Linked DNA regions of Homo sapiens: region 2 is linked to region 1. Evidence: promoter capture Hi-C in 16 types of primary human blood cells and fetal thymus (Javierre and others, 2016). All regions are on one chromosome and are shown on one strand. Each heading gives the region's core, a stretch centred on a gene start or on the middle of the fragment in contact. The rest is flanking DNA. Distances are from core to core; before and after follow the strand shown.

Region 1 (6,114 bases), core at 2,291-4,790:
TGGCTCTTCGTGGAAGGCCATTTGTCTTTCAGGTAGACACTCAGCAGCCCTCACGGTCTTAGTGACGTGTGTGCCTTTCTGGTCACACAGCTGCCCAGTTTCCTGATCGGGGTGGATTTGTGTCCCCTAAGGGGTAAAACAGCCGTTTACCGCAGATCCTCTCATTGTGCTTTTCTAGAATAACACCCTTCTAGGGGAGGCGGGTGGGGGAGGGAGGGATCATAACCCCTTCTGTGCCTTGGGATGCCGGAGCTGGGGGACCTGGAGGCCCATCAGCCGGAGCCACGTGAAAGGTACTGAAGAAAGCTGAGACCCGGCTGTGAGGAGCGCCTCAGCGGTGAGGTGGTTTAGGGATAAATGTTTCTGGAACCCTGTGGTCCCCCATAATGTTGATAGAATATCATATGCACTGGGAGTTAAATATATTTAATTTAATGATCATTATATATGTGGGGGTTAATATGTTGTTTTTCTGTCCCTTTAAAGTCTTTACATGTAATTGTAGCTGTATAATCGTTATTTTTCTTTTGCATCTTAAGTCTTAGAAATTAAGATATTCCATCGTGAGGATGAGAGAGGTCCTCAGTGTGTTTTTGGTCTGGTTGTAGGGAAGGACTCAAGTCCTGGAATGTCCTCCACTGGTCTACTGAGTTGCAGTCACACTGTTCCAATGGATTATTTGCTTTCGGTTGTAAATTTAATTGTACATATGGTTGATTTATTATTTTTAAAAATACAGACTAACTGATGTAATGTTTATGTATAAGTTGCACCAAAAATCAAGGACAAAAATAAGTGTGTTTGTTTTTACAGGTGTGAAAGTCACAGCTTGTAAATAAGTGTTGTATGTATTAAACCTTTTCCAGTTCTCCAAAGCGATGTATTTTTGTACACTTGAAATAGAGTACTCTTAATTTACTGGGCAAATGTGCTTGGAATTGAACTTGACAAGATTAGCTCAAGCAGATAGAGTCGGGTCCAGCAGTGGGTGGCCCTCGTGTGAATCCCCGTGGATGTGCAAGTTGTGGAGAGAAGGAGCACCGGGTTCCTGCCCAGCACTGTGCTTGCGGGAGGCGGTGGGGCATGGGAGGAAGGAGGCACAGACCGGGGAAATATGACAGCCGTCATTTCCAGTATTCTCTGTGTTGTCTTTTAGCTCATTCAATAAATAAAGGTGGTGTGATTTTTTTTTCCTCCTGTCTTTTTCATTTGTAGAAACTGGAGACGTGTAAAGAAGATAAATAATTGTGTAATTAAACTTTCCAGAAATTTATCTTCCTCATGTGCAGTTTAACAAACTTGGTCAAACTAGTTAGCAAATTAGAACTTCAGAATCTAATGATAGTTTAGGGTTTCTAAAATAAGGTTTTTTATTGTAAAAATTGACGATTGCCCTGCATTTCTACCAAGTCCTGTGAATAAAGAGATGGGAGATTTGATTCCGTCAGAAGAGACTGTAATCCGTGTCGTCAGCCTGGGAGCCTTCCCCAGTGTAATGTAGCTTTCTCTCTTACCTTCTGGAAGAGGGAATGTTTCATTTATTACTGTTTGATTTTCTTGTATCTGGTTCTACTCCCAGGATGAAATTATCCAACTACATATATATTTAGAGGAAGAAAGTGAAGGGGAAATTTAAAATGTTTACGGCGCTTAATTGCCTGGAAATGAAATGAAATCAAATTTATCAGTTTTTTTCCCCCTAATTACCCAAAAGATCTTTTGCAAACTATGTTACATGAATGCTTCTGCCTCTTTAAGACAAAGAAGAATGTCACCCAAAATTGTCATTTTTTTCTTAATGTTCATCATAAAAGTCCTAAAAGAGTAACTGTAATTGGATGTTTATTGTTTTTATCTAAAGTAAGGTGTATGTGTTTGAGACAAGCTGGTTTTGTTGATAAAGAGATGTTAAATAATTGTGAAGCCAGATATGCAATGTGTATCTGAAAAGCAAGGAATTTGCAGCCGTTTTACAAATATCTGTGGAACATGTAAATACTGTCAAATGGAAAATAAAATAAGTTATAATTTTTGTGAATTTCATGGGATGTCCTATGATTGGAAAAATTATAACTCTTCTGATTCTAATGTGGAAATTGTTGTATTTAATCTGAAAATGACTTTACCTACAACAGTTCCATTGTCAGCACAGCCTAGGAAGGTCAGATCCTGTATTAATTACTCTTAGTGGAGATGCCAGATATCCCATACAGAATTAGCAGAGAAAATACACACAGGCTTCTATTCAAATTTTCTTTAGTGCTTAAAATTAAGTTTTAAAATGAAATCAGACACTGCAGGTTTGTATATAAAATGAAAAGCTATACTACTTTTTACAAAAGGGCAAACTGGGCTGATGTAAATGTTTTACTTTCAACTGTGTTCTTTAAAATAAATCCTACCTGGTTTTTAAATTTTATTTTTCATGAAAATGCTCCTTTCTCTACATTTATTCATCCTATATACATCAGGCTGTAAGACCCCCCCCAGTCATCATTAATACAATGTGTTGGGATTCTGTGACTGGAAAAGGTGACAAGTTGGTGACTTTGACACTGCAGGTATTCCATTTTCATGGTTTACTATGAAAAGTCATTTTTCATATTATGTAATATATTGTTAGATTAAAACCATTGTATTAAGACTTTAAAATGTAAGCATTGTAATTCTGAAAATACACATTTTAAGAAGAAACTATTTTGCACTGGATCTTTTGCTGCGACATGGTGTGACAACAGTATGTAATGTGAAGATTTTATTGTTTTATCTCCCTAGTCCTTGTTCCTGACTCTTGGGCATAGATTATTTGCCTTTTGGGAAACATTCGGATTATTTTTTTTTTTTTTTTTTTTTTTTTCTCTGAGACAGTCATGCTCTGTTGCCTAGGCTGGAGTGCAATGGCGCGATCTGGGCTCACTGCAGCCTCCGCCTCCCAGGTTCAAGCCATTCTCCTGCCTCAGCCTCCCGAGTAGCTGGGACTACAGGCATGCGCCTCATTTTTATACTTTAGTAGAGATGATGTTTCACCATGTTGGCCAGGCTAGTCTCGAACTGCTGACCTCAGGTCATCCACCCGCCTCAGTCTCCCAGGCGTGAGCCACCGCACCGGCCAGCATTCGGGACTTTATTCATAATTCCTTACCCAACAGTTCACAAGAACGAAGACATTTGGGTGTGCAGCGCTCTCATGTTGTGGACGCTGCTGTGCCAGGCTGGGCGTCCGTGCGGAGCGCGCCCAGCGCTGGAGCGCGCCTAAGAGGCGCCCTGCAGTGTGGCTCCGGGGTGTGGGCGGGGCCCGGAGAAGGCCCCCGCCTTGGGAGGGGTTGGGCCTCGCGTTCAAACTCCGCCTCGGGGCGGGGCGAGGGCGACGCAGCTCCTCCTGCCTCCTGGGCCGCTGCGGACGGTGGTGCGCGACCCCGTCCCGGGCGCGCGCGCTGTGGGCGGTGCACGCCGTCGCTTCCCGGAAGTGCGTGCTGTGGGCGGTGCCGCGCGGACCCCCGGGAAGTGTCTCTGTGGGCGGCCGCCGGGTTGAGCTGCGGCACACGTGCGACGGCCGTGATGAAGTTCGCTTACCGGGTGAGCGCGGGCGGCGGGCGGTCTGTTGGATCGGCGCGGCTCTTCCGGTGGACGGCGCCTGAGCTGGCTCCGGGCGGGCTGGGGGCGCGTGGTCTGCTTTTGCGGCGTCTGGCCGCGTGGGGGTCGCCGGCTGTCTGCGCGCCCGTGGCCTCGGGGACGCGGGGCTGTGGTGGGGCTCCTGGGAGAGCTGGGACGGAGGCGCCGACGGCTTCTCGGAGGGAACAGGGACATTTGTCGGGGTCCCGGGATATTTTTAACCTGAGTATGGCCCAACCTAAAGGCTGGAGTTGGTGCAGTCGGGGAGGGCACAGCACCCTCGGGAGGGATGAGGAGGTGGGACGGGGCGGGGACGCGGGCGCGCGCAGGCGGGGTGAGAACAGCAGGGACCCGGGGCCCGGGACTGGTCCCTAACGAGCGAGCGTCCAGGTGAGCGGAAGGGCGGGGAACCCAGGTGTGAGCTCTGTTTCCCGAGGCCGGAGGGAATTCCTGAGGCGGACGCCCTCAGCTTTGAGAGCCAGGGAAGACTTGTCCCAGATGTGAAGTGCAGGAGGCGGGTGAGACAGGTAATAAGAGGGGGCCGTGGAGCCGGCCTGGGGGTCTCTGAAGCGTTTGCTACAGCTGGCCGGTTATGGGGACGCCTGTGTTTCCCACAGTGGCCCTGACCGTTGCGCTTCCAGGGTTGCACGGGCCGCCTGCTGCTGAGCCCACCGTGTACTACACTTGTCCTGTCCGAAACTGGGCATGGTACTGGCCCCTCAGAGTGCTGCTCCTGTGTCCCCTGTGCTGGTGGAGCCACCGCTGTGTGCCCAGCACCAAACCAGAAACCATATCCACGTCCTCACAGGCCAGGACTTCATCCGCTCCACATTCCTACTGCAAGGTGGCAAAAAATGTGCCTTGGAGCCTGCCTGGCCGCTTAAAGTCCTTCTGCTGACCAAGCTCCTCCCTGAGGTCCTGAGGGCGCTGCCCACTCACAGCTTCAGGGCCTGGCTGGTGCCTTCCCATTTAGATTCCAGCTCAGGTGACCCTTCCAGGTGCCTCTCCGTGACCACCGTCTAAAGTAGCCCCTGCTCCCACACTTCTCATCCCCCTCCTGCTAGAGAGAGAATATAAGGTGTGCGTGTCTGTGCGCATGGCAGTCTCCAGTGAACGCTCGTGCTCGTGAGTTAGTAAATAGGATGCTGGCTTACCACACTTCTGGAAGCCCTGAGTTCTAAGCACTTTTGGGGTGCTGTTCCATTGTTGCAGCTTTTTTCTTGGTGAAGTGTGGGCTCCATGCCCCTCTTCACCTGGCAGACGCCTCCTGTCTTGGGAGGCTTCCTCAGTGCTCACAGGGGCATCTTACCCATCTCTGTGGGAGCTTGGGGCCGCCCGGGCTCCTCTGGTCTCCTGAGGATCAGGCTCACTTCTTCCTCTCTTACCCAGGAAAGGTGAACGGGCCCCCAAGGTGGGGTTCTCTATGCCATCTCTCTGCCCAGATGCCTCACTTAGTGCTTTTCTGGGAGTCGACTGTTTTCTTTGTGTTAAGACAATTTTGTTTTCTTCACAGTTTTCAAATTTGCTGGGTACGGTGTACCGGCGTGGGAACCTAAATTTTACCTGCGATGGAAATTCAGTTATCAGTCCCGTGGGCAATAGAGTCACTGTATTTGACCTTAAAAAGTAAGTATGTGAAAGTGGTATTCATAATAGTGATACTGATTACTATTATCACCATTTTTTAAGTAACATATGAAAACTGATAGTGTCTTCTGTGCCTTCCTTTTAATGGTGCACCCGTTAATTAAGGGAGCCCAGGACAGGACTACAGGACAGACTAGGGTCAGCAGATCAGTTGTGGAAATTGGCAGCCAGACCCAGTTCTTCGTTGTAGTGCCTTAGCCAGGCCCCATAAAGTGGTGTGTCACTTGGCTCCGTTCTGTGGGAAGGGACCCTGTCCCTGTGCTGTGAAGGGTGGGTGGGGGAAAAGGTGTAGCTCAGGGTTAGCCCTTCCCCCATCAGGGAAGGCCCCTAAGGGCTGAAAGGCCAGGGCTGCTGGGGGAGTTGAAGGTACCTTGGACCCCTGCTCGGGAGCCCTGCTGCCACTGGGCCTCACCAGTCGGACGGGCAGGCCCAAAGCTTCCAGCTCTGCAGCCGGAGGTCAGTTTTATTCGCTGGGGTTTAGCGGTTTCTTCCTGTGTGCTGTTGCACTTTGCTTCACTTTGTTGCACTCTGGCTCTGTGCGGATGCTGTTTTACCACGAAGCGAAGGTGTGTGGAAACACTGCTTGGAGAAAGTTGGTCGGTGCCATTTTTCCAGCAGTGGGGGCTCACTTCATGTCTCTGTGTCACATTTTGGTAATTTTGTGATATTTCAAAGTTTATTATACCTGTGAGGGTGATTTGTGATCATCTTTGCTGTTGCTATCGTGATTGTTCTGGGGTGCCGTGATCCGTGCCCATGTAAGACAGCGAGCTTAATCGGTAAGCACTGTGTGTGCTGTGCCTGCTCCACCGACCGGCTGTTCCCCACCCCCCCACGTCTCTCTTCCTCTACTTG
Region 2 (6,114 bases), core at 196-2,695, 230 kb after region 1:
CTTCCTCATGGTCCCTGAGTAGCAGAAGGTTCATTTCTCTCACTGACAGACATAAACAAGGGCGTCTTTATAAGAGGTCAAGTTCAAAGGGTGAACAGGCAACTTATGAAGCAAACTTTAAAAGCCTGAAACAGGGTTGTTGTTTCTCCCAGCTTAGTGGGAGTACTGACCACCCCATGCAAAACAAAGAAATGCATTATTGAAAGCAAATGACACGGGAATTGTAGCCAAAACACCAGATATGCCAGGGCAGAGAGAAAAGCTTTTTAATTAACAGGGAAGAGCTCACTCTGGGCAGTCTGCGGACACCCCTGGGAGGAAGCGTCTGCTCTCGCTGACCCCCACACCCGCCTGCACGGTGAGGCCAGTTGACACGGCGCGGTCACTCTGCTGAGTCCCCAGGGAACCCTGGAGATCTTGCAGGCCTCAACTCCAGGCTCCCTCTTCTGGAAGCTCCTGGTCTTCCTTGGCTCAGTGAGACTCAGCATTACCTGCCTTTCAGCCTGCCTGGGTCCCACCGCACCCACGTCCCTTCCTGTCACCTGCTAGGAGTACCCTGGGAACGGCCGCCCCCAGTACTGATTACCAACGTGTTTCCTGACTCAGTCCTGGAAAGCTCAGTTCTCTCTCCTATTCGACTTGGTCCCAGTGACTGCTGGCAACCCCAGACAACAGACCCAGCCCACAGGGCACCCGGGGCAAAGGCGGGCCGGGAAATGGGGGGGGGCCCAGGCGACCCCGACCCCCGGCCTCCTCCCCTCCCTCACCCGCGGCTCCTTCGCCGCCCTCGCCCCTGCCCCTCCCCCCTTCCACTCCGCCCCCGCCCCGCCCCGCCCCGGCTCCTCCCTCCGGCTCCGCCCTCGTCCCGCCCCGGCTCCTCCCTCCGGCTCCGCCCTCGTCCCGCCCCGGCTCCTCCCTCCGGCTCCGCCCTCGTCCCGCCCCGGCTCCTCCCTCCGGCTCCGCCCTCTCCCCGCCCCGGCTCCGCCCTCTCCCCGCCCCGGCTCCGCCCTCTCCCCGCCCCGGCTCCTCCCTCCGGCTCCGCCCTCGTCCCGCCCCGGCTCCTCCCTCCGGCTCCGCCCTCTCCCCGCCCCGGCTCCTCCCTCCGGCTCCGCCCTCGCCCCGCCCCGGCTCCTCCCCCCACCCCGGGGCGGCCGCGGCCAGGCCCCGCCTCACCAGCAGTTGAGCTTGCGCACGCTGTGCAGCTCCGAGGCCTTGGCCCGGGTCAGAACCATCTTCCGCGTCAGCTTCATGGCGGCCGCCCAGGCCCGACCGGCGGGCGCCCCCGGCCTCCTGATCCCGGGCGGGTGACGACTGCGCGGCGCGTGTCTCCAGGGGCGGGGCCCGCGTCGTCAGGGGCGGATCCTGAGCCGATTGGCGGCTCGGTGAGGAGAGCGGGGCGACGCGAGCCCGCTGGGGCCGCTTGGGCGCCGCTGACACGTTGGCTCTGCTCCTGCTCATGCGCGGCCTGGGGCGCCCTTCTCTGACGCGATTCTAACGCGACCCCGGAAGCGCGCAGCGAGCAGAGGGTGGGTGCAGGTGGCGGTCCCCGAGTCGGCCCAGTGAGGGCTGAACTGCTGCTCCCAGGAACCGAGCGGGGTGGGCTCGGTCCGACGCGCATCATGGCCGAGTGCCTAGGCCTGACTCTGAGCGCAGGCCTAGCGTGGATGGCATGGGCGCTACACAGCTCCAAGTTACGCGATTCAAACTCTTGGAATAAACCCAGGGCAGCCCTGGGGCTGTGTTGATTCCTTGTCTCCCTCCCTCCCAGCATTTACAGAAAAGACGCATTTATAGGAAAGACGCACGGGCAGGTCCAGCAGAGCCCTTACAAGCATTTCAACCTTTTAGAAATCAGATAAGACCCTCTAAACATCGTTACATGGGCCACAGTTACATTAAGACAGGCGTTCTGACGTTCTGAAACCGCCTTTGCAAAAAATTGTATCGGTGAGAGAAGGTTGGCCTTGAAGGAGATCTGGCCAACCCCCATCTTGCCTTTGGCCTTAAAACTGCCCTTAATTATTCCTGGATAAGCAAAGGTAACTTTGGGAGACATTTATAGTTTAAGTGATAGCAGCCCTTCCTCAAAACTAAACAGCCTTTGTAAAGCTAATGAGACCACTGAAACCGCCTTTGCAAAAATCATAACTGAAGAAATTATGACAGGGGAAGATCTCCTCACCCACCCCATCTTCCTGCTATCCTCTAAGCTGCTTTTGTTCATTCCTGGGTGTAGACCAGACTAGCCTTGGGAAGGAATTTAGTTTATAGATTAAACTGAAACAAAATTGATAATAGCCCTTTCCCAAAAAAACCCTTCTTGCCTGGGGACCAGTCTGCCTTTGTAGGACTAACAAATTAAGCTACGAGATTAAAAATTACAGTTTAGGGGCCATGCAACCTCTGGCGGCAAGAGTCTGAACCTCCCCAAATTGCTTCTGGGAATAACATCACTGTTGCAAAACTTAAGGTCAGTGCTTGAAATATTTTGTAGACCCTGCATTCAGATGCAGCAGATGACACCACCCAAACGGATAATCTGGCTCAACCATGTGTGTGATCCCACCCAGGGACAGAAGTCAGCCAGAACTCATTTTGACCCCCTATGATTTAATCTTCGACCTGACCAATCAGCACTCACCACTTTCTGAGCCCATACCCGCCAAATTATCCTTAAAAACACGGATCCCCGAATGCTTGGGGAGACTGATTTGAGTGATAATAAAACTCTGCTCTCCTGCACAGCCAGCTCTGTGTGTATTACTCTTTCTCCATTGCAATTCCGTTGCCTTGATAAATCGGTTCTGTCTAGGCAGTGGGCAAGGCGAACCCATTGGGCGGTTACACTACCAGCCTAGAAGGATAGAGGAGCATGAATTCCACTAAGATGCAGATGTAAACATTCGTCAGCCATTATTCTGGAGGTCACAAGATAAGCTACTTCCCCAATTACTCCTGCAGGTAACATCACTATTGTACCTTTGCAGGTTTCTTGCATGTCTCACACGGATGGATCCAGCTAAATGTCTTGCCAACAGCTCCTGTGGCCCCACCCAGAAGCCATGCAGCACAAAAGGACCAAAAGGACAGCTAGATTTCATCTCGCACCTAACCAATCAGCACTCCCCATGCCCTAGCCCCCTGTTCACCAAACTACCTTTGAACAACCCCTAACCCATGAGCCTTCAATTGTAACCGAGCAGCTTAGCAGCTGTGAATCCAAAATATCTGAGACAGGACTCAATCTGTTTAGAAAGTTTATTTTGTCAAGGTTAAGGACAAGCCCATGACACAGCCTCAGGAGGTCCTGATGACATGTGCCCTGGGTGGCTGGGGCACAGCTTGCTTTCATACATTTTTAGGGAGACATGAGACATCAATCAATATGTGTAAGATGGAAAAAGAAGAAAAAATATATGTATAAGATGTACATTAAGCCGGGCGCGGTGGCTCACGCCTATAATCCCAGTACTTTGGGAGGCTGAGGCAGGTGGATGGCCTGAGGTCAGGAGTTCGAGACCAGCCTGGCCAACATAGTGAAACCCTGTCTCTACTAAAAATACAAAAAATTAGCTGGGCGCGGTGGTGGGTTTCACTCGTGTCCATGTGAAGAGACCACCAAACAGGCTTTGTGTGAGCAATCAAGCTGTTTATTTCACCTGGGTGCAGGTGGGCTGAGTCTGAAAAGAGAGTCAGTGAAGGGAGATAAGGGTGGGGCCGTTTTATAGGATTTGGGTAGATAAAGGAAAATTATAGTCAAAGGGGGGTTGTTCTCTGGCGGGCAGAGTGGGAGTCACAAGGTGCTCAGTAGGGGAGCTTTTGAGCCAGGATGAGCCAGGAGAAGGAATTTCACAAGACAATGTTATCAGTTAAGGCAGGAACAGGCCATTTTCACTTCTTTTATGGTGGAATGTCATCAGTTAAGGCGAGAACCAGCCATCTGGATGTGTACGTGCAGGTCACAGGGGACATGGTGGCTTAGCTTGGGCTCAGAGGCCTGACAGTGGGCGCCTGTAATCCCAACTACTTTGGAGGCTGAGGCAGGAGAATCGCTTGAACCCGGGAGGCAGAGGTTGCAGTGAGCCGAGACTGTGCCATTGCACTCCAGTCTGCGCAACAAGAGCGAGACTCCGTCTTAAAAAAAAAAAAAAGATGTACATTAGTTCAGTCTGGAAAGGCAGGACACCTTGAAGGCCGGGTGGGGTTGTGGGGGTGGAGGGAGGCTTCCAGCTTCCAGGTCATCGGTGGATAAGAGACAAAAGATTGCATTCTTTTGAGTCCTTTCACTGAATACACAATTTGGTCTAGCTTAGTAAATCTGCATTTTTACATAAACAATAAGGCAGAGAAAGCAAACAGATAGGCATGTGTCTCCGGTGAGCAGGGGGATGACCTCCTGTCCCACACCTGTGAAGATCAGCTATCAGTTTACATTCCAGGGTGAAATTCAACAGAACTGTTTGAGGGTAAAGATCTTGAGGCCCACAAGGAATTTCCTTGTGGGCAAATTGTGAGGGAGCTTCATAGCTTTTTATCTTTGTAGCGATCTTATTTAGGAATAAAATTGGAGGCAGGTTTGCCTGATGCATTTTCCAGCTGACTTTTCCCTTGACTTAGTGATTTTAAGGTCTTGAGCTTTATATTCCTTTCACACAGCTAAGCCTCAAACCATGTTTTAAAACTTTTTCCCCTTTCCCCTTTCCTCCTCCTCCACCCTAGTCTGAAGATGTAACTGAGACAAGCTGCTTGTGTTACCTTCCATCTTGAAATACAGCCTGGGAATGTGAACCTCCACTCCGTTCCCATCCTGTGCTCTCAGGCCTTATGCACATTTAGTTTACCTGGATGCCTGTTAAGCACACACCATGCTCACTTATCTGGTCATCTCTTTGCTTGGAAGCTTCAGGGGTCAGCTCCTGAAAGGGACCGGACACCTCATTCTGTCTCCAACAAGATTACTTCAAGGCCAGAACTCACTCTCGGCCTTGAAGTAATTGAGGACTAAACTCTGATTTTTCTTTTTTTATCTTGCCCAAATTCCTAAAGGGCATGGACAGTCATGCCCTACAAACCATAAATTCTCATCAGATGGGTTTTATTTAACCTTCTATATCGTGGTGTTGACAAAAAGAGTCAAACTCTGTAAAATATTTTAAGAGATTTATTCTGAGCCAGATATGAATGACCATGGCCCGTGACGCAGCCCTCAGGAAATCCTGAGAACATGTGTCCAAGGTGGTCGGGGCACAGCTTGGTTTTTTACTTTTTAGGAAGGCATGAGACAGCAATCTAATACATTTAAGAAATACGTTGGTTTGATTCAGAAAGGCGGGACAACTCAAAGTGGGGGCTTCCAGGCTATCGGTGAATTTAAACATTTTCTGGTTGACGGTTGAGTTTGTCTAAAGACCTGGGATCCATAGAAAGGAAATGCTCAGGTTCAGATAAAAGACTGTGGAGACCGCTGGGCACGGGGGCTCACGCCTGTAATCCCAGCACTTTGGGAGGCCGAGGCGGGCGGATCGCGAGGTCAGGAGATCGAGACCATCCTGGCTAACACGGTGAAACCCTGTCTCTACTAAAAATACAAAAAACAAACAAAAAAATTAGCTGGGCATGGGGGCGGGCGCCTGTAGTCCTAGCTACTCGGGAGGCTGAGGCAGGAGAATGGTGTGAGCCCGGGAGGCGGAGCTTGCAGTGAGCCGAGATTGCGCCACTGCACAGAAAAAAAGAAAAAAAAAGACTGTGGGGACCAAGGTTCTTTTGAAGTCTTTAATGGCTGCCCTTAGAGACAATCGATGACGAATGTTTCCTATTCACACCTTTAAAAGGTGCTAGACTCTCAGTTAATCTCGTCAGGATTGGGAGGGCCTGGAAGAAAAAGATCAAGCTATGTGAATAGAGATTCCTTCCAGATGCACATTTTCTCCCACAAAGGACGGCTTTGCAGGAGCGTCTCAAAATATGGCAGGAAACATGTTTCGGGGTAAAATATTTTGATTTTATTCCTTGTCATGTTATGCCAGAGTCAGATTGGAAAGTAAGTTATGACATATAGGGTTAAATAAAACCCGTCTGATGAGAATTTATGGTTTGTAGGGCATGACTCTCCAT

What was found. The method cuts DNA at HindIII sites, captures the fragments that hold promoters and counts their contacts. A CHiCAGO score of 5 or more calls a contact.
Region 2: the fragment with the promoter of CFAP410 here is called in contact with the fragment with the promoter of PWP2 in region 1 in 2 of 17 cell types (total B cells and naive B cells); the score reaches 5.4 in total B cells.

What each region holds. Positions count from the first base shown.
Region 1 is chr21:44,103,859-44,109,972 of GRCh38, forward strand. It overlaps PWP2 (PWP2 small subunit processome component), which reads left to right and starts at 3,541. Exons shown (of 21, transcript NM_005049.3): 1 at 3,541-3,576; 2 at 5,126-5,238. The coding sequence starts at 3,559. TRAPPC10 (trafficking protein particle complex subunit 10) reads left to right here. Exons shown (of 23, transcript NM_003274.5): 23 at 1-2,694. RefSeq lists silencers at 3,087-3,603, 3,194-3,577. The HindIII fragment of the contact is 7,342 bases long and covers 1-5,692 here.
Region 2 is chr21:44,337,945-44,344,058 of GRCh38, forward strand. It overlaps CFAP410 (cilia and flagella associated protein 410), which reads right to left and starts at 1,446. Exons shown (of 7, transcript NM_004928.3): 1 at 1,174-1,446. The coding sequence starts at 1,250. RefSeq lists silencers at 615-734, 1,035-1,404 and enhancers at 1,405-1,624, 3,487-4,129, 4,130-4,773, 5,516-6,071. The HindIII fragment of the contact is 4,638 bases long and covers 261-4,898 here.